2 separate regions of the Homo sapiens genome follow, and region 2 is linked to region 1. Evidence: promoter capture Hi-C in human tissues and cell types (Jung and others, 2019). All regions are on one chromosome and are shown on one strand. Each heading gives the region's core, a stretch centred on a gene start or on the middle of the fragment in contact. The rest is flanking DNA. Distances are from core to core; before and after follow the strand shown. Region 1 holds the start of KCNE1 (potassium voltage-gated channel subfamily E regulatory subunit 1). Region 2 has its middle 4.8 kb from the start of CLIC6.

Region 1 (3,219 bases), core at 388-2,887:
GTCTCCCATCATGCCCCCTTCTTTTCCATTGTATGGCATATTTTCTTTTTTATCGTAATTGTTAAATTGTTTGTCTTCCCTGTTGAAACATAATTTGGGTGGAAGTGGGATTCCTGGTAGCCAATGGCTCATAGTAGACGTTCAACACGCAAGTGGATTGGATAGATGGAAGGATAGATGGGTAGATGGAAAGTTGGATGGATGGATGGATGGATGGATGGATGGATGGATGGATGGATGGATAGGGATTTTGGAGGAAGAGGAGTGAGCAGTCACTGAAAAGAATAGAAAAATAATGAGGCTTGCTCCCTCTCCCTAGTCAGAAGAGCCAGTAAGCAGCTTAGAGCTTTAATCCCACAAATTGTCAGGCAGCTGGCGCAAGAACAGGGAAAAAGAGAGAGAGAGAGAGAGAGAGACCCTGTCTGTGGTAGGTTATGGTCATCAGTGAAAAAGAACAAAAACCTTTGTTTTAAAACTCTCCTCAAAACAGATGATTGGCTAGAGGGTGCGGCACAAAGGAACTTGTCAGGGTGATGGAGACATTCTGTATCTGGATTGAGCAATGCAAGAACCTGGGTAAAGACACAGTCATGGTAACAGCTGTATACATCTGTTGAAAACTCATCAAACTTATCATATTTAGAAAGGGTACATTTTGCTTCATGTAAAGTATGCCTCAATAAAGTGTACTTGATTTTAAAATCAGGATAAAGGAAAAAAACATTGATCTTGGATAATGGGCAGGGGTTGGGGAGAAGGTCTTAATTATCATCATATCCTTTTAAAAACGTTTTTCAAGTGTGTGATGCTCTGATGACATTCTTAAGACACAGCAAGGCAAAGCAGTATCCCAAATGAGAGAGTGAGCATTCCAATAAATATTTTCTGTAAGACACTGATATGTCTATGACTATTTGCTAAATTTAAAAATCAACTTGGACCATATTTACTCCCTTAAAGTCTAATAGACGACTAATTTCTTCTATGTTCAGAACAAATATGTTGCTACTTTAAGAACAGCATACATAGGTGTGGTCGGCCCTCTGTGTCTAAGGCTTCTGCATCTGTGGATTCAACCAACAATGGACTGAAAATATTCCAAAAATAAAATAAAATTAATGAAACAACAACAAAAATAAAACAAATAAAAAAATGCCAGGTAACAACTACTTACAAAGCATTTACATAGTATTAGGTGTTAGAAGTAATCAAGAGATGATTTAAATCACCATCTATGATTGGCTGATATGCATAGGTTATATGCAAATACTATGCCACTATATATAAAGGACTTGAACATTCGCAAATTTTGGTATCTGCAGGGGATTCTGGAACCAAACCCCATGGATACCAAGAGACAACTATATATAAAATACTGAAAGAGGCATGGAGAGTGATTTTCAGGCCTCTACCTAAAGCCCTGAATATTAGAAATTACTGAATTTCTTCTCAGGAAGGAAATTACGCCATAAACCAGTGTTGCCACACACCCAGAGAACAAGATGACCCGACGCCCCAGCCTGGTCATGCCACATGAGCTGAGCAGTGGGTAGGCCACTGAGCCAGTGATAGAAATCACAAATTACAAAACGTCAGAGTACTTTCTGGAAATAAGCCTTCCTCTCCAGGGAACAACGCATTTGACACTTGACTGGGATACACTACCGGATCCTCCGAGGGTGATGGTTCTCAAGAAGGCAGAAGCAATGGTGACCAATAGACCTCCTTAAAGGCTGAGCCGCTGGGCACCTTCCTACTCCTCTCGACCGTGCTAGGATGACTGCAGCAGAGTCCCCGAGTCCTTTGATGCAAGGGTCTAGGTGAGTTCGAAGGAGAGCCATACTAGGCCAGGCAGAAAGGCCCATGGTGATGGCTGTCCACCCTGGTCAGGGGAATTCTAGGTTCAGGCCATGCGGCAAGGTCACCTTGAGGGACATGCTTTGCTCTAAGCTCAGCTTAAGTGTGTCTGAACCCCCCTCACTTCTTCCAACTGCAGAAGCACATGGAGAAGGGGGAGAAAGGGTTGCCCACCTCCTAAAATGAGGGCAGCGTGGTGAAGAGCCCCATCATGCCCCACCAAGGTCCTGTGTGCAGGGCAGGGCAGTGCCTATCCAGAAGGCCAGACCTCTAACTGCTGCTCTGTAGGACGTCCGGGCCTCACATGCAGGCTCCTATAAGCTGGCTGTCTTGGCAAGAGGGCCCTGGTACAGCACTGTGTTCATCACAGAAAACCACACCGTACATAATTTGTAACAGACAGAAATGCATTTGGCTCATGGTTCTGGAGACTGGGAACCCAGGATGGAGGGGCCACATCTGGCAAGGGCCTTCTTGCCATGACATGGTGGAAGGTATCACAAGGTTGGGGAAGGAGGGGTGGGCGGGGCGGGAAGAGAGAGAGAGAGAACAAGAGAGAGAGAATCCATTCATAAGGGTGGAGCCCTCATGACTAAACACCTCCCATTAGGTCCCACCTCCCAACACTGTTGCTTTGGGGATTAAGTTTCCAGCTGGCTTTTTTCAAACCTTAGCAACCACCAAACAGACAAGCCCTTCGGCCTGTCCTGGAGGGCGTTGAATGGCATGGCCTGGAGCTCAACCAGGAGAACCGTGCTCAGGAGGAAGAGACCAGAAGGATAACTCAAAAAGTTCTGAGAAGTTCCTAAGACCACCTGAAGAGAAGGAGCCTGCTGCCAATGGTGTGGACACCGCAGTGTGCTTGAGGAGACTTCAGAAACGAGAACTGGTAGGAGAAGGGGGTTGCACAGACCCTTTCCTCAGTTAGGCACCCTCTGCTCCCACCCTCATGCCCACCCTGACATCAGGCTAAGGGAGAGGCGCTCATCCATTGACAGGTGCCAGGCTGTCCTGGGCCTGGCAAACCCTGGCCTTGTACACCCACTCTCCACACGTCTGCCCCCACCCTCCCAGGGGCAGGGCCGGGCTTCCCTGCAGAGACACAGGGCAAAGAGGGAGAGAGAAGGCCTCAGGCCAGGGCATGGCCTAGTGCCTCCCAGCGCCAGGTCCTGACAGCCTGAGAGAGCTGGAATCAAGGAAGGTGATCCTGGGCCCCAGACAGACGTCAGTGAGCTTCAGCCTCTGGTGGCTGCACACCAGCCAGGGCAGCAGCGCCCCCTCCTGCCTGTGTTCAGCTGTGTGGGCTGCAAGAGGACTAAGGAGAGTTTCAAGGAGGCAGGCAGTGGGGGAGGAAGTGTCCCA
Region 2 (3,219 bases), core at 284-2,783, 150 kb before region 1:
TCAGACCATGCCACTTTTATGCTCAAAATCTTTCAAAGGTTTTCTGTCTCACAGTAAGAAAAAGTCAAGTCTTTATGCATGAAGTATAAGGTCCTATAAAATCAGGCAATCCCAGTCTCTTTCTGGCTTACTAGACTTCTGCAGCCCCTAAAACACCAGCCTGCTTGCCGTCCCTAGAACTTGCTGGGCCTCTGCCTGGGATGCCCCCTATATTCTCATGGCTTACTCCCTTACCTTGCTGCAGTCTCTGATTAATTATTTTCCCCAAGCACTCCATTTTACTTTTATAAAATGGCTAGAGTGCAGTGGTGTGATCTCGGCTCACTGAAGCCTCCAGCTCCCAGGTTCAAGTGATCCTCCTGCCTCAGCCTCCCGAGTATCTGGGACTACAGGCGCATGGCACCACATCCAGCTAATTTTTGTATTTTTTTTAGTAGTGATGGGGTTTCACCATGTTGGCCAGGATGGACTCGATCTCTTGACCTCGTGATCCGCCTGCTTTGGCCTCCCAAAGTACTTGGATTACAGGCATGAGCCACCATGCCCGCCCCAAGCATTCCATTTTAAAACACAACCCCTACTCTCTGGCATCCTTCTCTGCCTTATTTTCCCCCATAGCAGTTATCTTCATCTGACACATAATATATTCTAGTTGTTATCTGTCTGCCCTACCTCACCCCACTAGGATGGTGATTCTGTGAAAGCAGGGGTTTTTGCTTGTCATTGCCTAGGATAGACCAGGCACATAGTAGAGCTCCATAAATATTTCCTGAATGAGTGAATACACACGTGCCTTCAAATACATATGCACCAACCTGAACTAGTTTTGGAAAATACTTTTCTCAGTTAGTTTTATACTTTGGTGGGCAAGCTAATGTCACAAGACACACTATTCACAGAAATTCTTTTTTTTTTTTTTGAGACGGAGTCTCACTCTTTTGCCCAGGCCAGACGGCAGTGGTGCTATCTCGGCTCACTGCAAGCTCCGTCTCCTGGGTTCATGCCATTCTCCTGCCTCAGCCTCCCGAGTAGCTGGGACTACAGGTGCCCTCCACCACGCCCGGCTAATTTTTTGTATTTTTAGTAGAGACAGGGTTTCACCGTGTTAGCCAGGATGGTCTCGATCTCCTGACCTCGTGATCCACCCGCCTCGGCCTCCCAAAGTGCTGGGATTACAGGCATGAGCCACTTACAGAAATTCTTATCTACTGACTTTGCCAAAAGAATACTTTAGCAAATTCTTTTAATTATTAGCAAGGGCTCAGTCAGTTCATATAAAGGAACACAAAGGAAATACCAAATAAATAGACGTGTGAAGGTCGCTATGAAGTCACTTAGAGACGTGCACGTTGTTAACCTGGCCTCCAACACTAGATTAGCTATTTAAATACCAGGGAGGGTTAAACAGAGGTGACAGATTCAGAGGTGGATGACAAGAAATGAAAGCGTTGATATTTAAGTAACTTTTAATAATTATACAGTCCTTCTGCCATATATTATAAGGAATCATGAAGCAGGTAAACTCGGATTACAAGAAAACCTTAAGGGCTTATAAACAATGTAAGGGTTTGTTGCTTTTGTTGCTTTTCCAGAAGGAATGGCCTCATCTCCATAGAAATCTGCTCTTTCTCTAGCAGGTATCTGCTCCTTTCAGAAGAGCCCGTGGGATTATAATGTATCTGTAACATTTAGATCACAGGATACACTTAGAGCTGAGTAAAGTTTCTCCTTGCCTGGAATTCTCCTCAAACAGTTGCACTCACTTACCTACAAGTGGCCCCAAACCCGCTTCTTAATCTGGCTGGCTTTCTTCAGTTACTTGGTAAGGTACATTTCAGTTAAAAGAAGAGTGTCACTGCAGAATAGGTTGTACTAGGAGGCAGGGATTTCAAAGCCTGCTAGTCAGTAGATCCTGAAGCACGTACACATCATCTTGCAGGTCAGTAAGAACATTACATGGAACTGACACACATGACAATCATGGTGAAATGGGTGGTTCTTGGATTAAATGGTCTGATTTAAATCCCTGCCCTATCTCGTAATAACTATATGATCTTGATTCAGTTTTTCATCTGGAACAGTGAGGGTTATAAAAGGAACCTTGTCATTGTCAGTTGTTTCACTGATACATATTTGTACATTATTTATGCAGTACATGTGATATTTTATTACATGCGTAGAATGTGTAATGATCAAGTCAGGGTATTTAAGGTATCCATTACCTAAAGTATTTATCATTTCTATGTGTTGGGACCAGTTCAGGTCCTCTCTCTTTGTTATTTTGAAATAGACAATATATTGTTGTTAACTTAACTATAGTCACCCTACTGTGCTACCACACATTAAAGCTTATTCCTTCTATCTAACTGTATGTTTGTACCCATTAGCCTACTTCTCTTCATCGTCCTACTCACCCACACTCCCTTTGCAGCCTCTGGTATCTATCATTCTACTCTCTACCTCCATGAGACCAACCATTTTAGCTCCCACATAGGAGTGAGAACATACAACATTTTGACCTTAACATAATGACCTTCATAGTGACCTTCAGTTCCATTTGTGTTGCTGCAAATGACATAATTTCATTCTTTTTATAGCCACATAATATTCCATTGTGTGTATATATATATACCACACTTGCCTTATCCATTCCTCTGTTGATGGACACAGGTTGATTCCATATCTTGGCTACTGTAAATAGTGCCACCATAAACATGGGGGTGCAGGCATCCCTTTTTTATACTGATTTCTTTTCCTTTGGATAAATAACCATTTAGTGAGATTGCTGGATCATATAGTAGTTCTATTATTAGTTTTTTGGTAATCTCCATTCTGTTTTCCATAGTGGCTGTACTAATTTACACTCTCACCAACAGTGCCCTTTTCACCACATCTTTATCAGCATCTGATTTTTTTGTCTTTTAGTAATAGCCATTTTAACTGGAGTAAGATGGTATCTCATTGTCATTTTGATATGCATTTTCCTGAGGATTAATGACGTTGAGCATTTTTTCATATACCTGTTGGTCATTTGTATGTCTTCTTTTGAGAAATGTCTATTCATGTCCTTTGCCCACTTTTTTTATTGTATTATTTGGTTTTTTACTGTTGAGTTTTTTGAGTTTCCTGTATATTCTGGATATTAGTCCCTTATCAAATGATAGTTTATATTTTCTCTGATTTGACACAATGTCTTTTCACTCTGTTGATTATTCCCCT

The links. The method cuts DNA at HindIII sites, captures the fragments that hold promoters and counts their contacts. A contact is called where the count stands out against the background at its distance.
Region 2: a contact is called between a fragment that was not itself captured here and the fragment with the promoter of KCNE1 in region 1, in 7 of the 25 tissues and cell types used here (dorsolateral prefrontal cortex, heart left ventricle, liver and 4 more).

What each region holds. Positions count from the first base shown.
Region 1 is chr21:34,510,628-34,513,846 of GRCh38, reverse strand. It overlaps KCNE1 (potassium voltage-gated channel subfamily E regulatory subunit 1), which reads left to right and starts at 1,637. Exons shown (of 4, transcript NM_000219.6): 1 at 1,637-1,820; 2 at 2,532-2,746. The HindIII fragment of the contact is 8,709 bases long and covers 1-3,219 here.
Region 2 is chr21:34,662,581-34,665,799 of GRCh38, reverse strand. No RefSeq gene overlaps it. Among named protein-coding and RNA genes, the nearest start is that of CLIC6, 4.8 kb to the left of the region's middle. The HindIII fragment of the contact is 6,731 bases long and covers 1-3,219 here.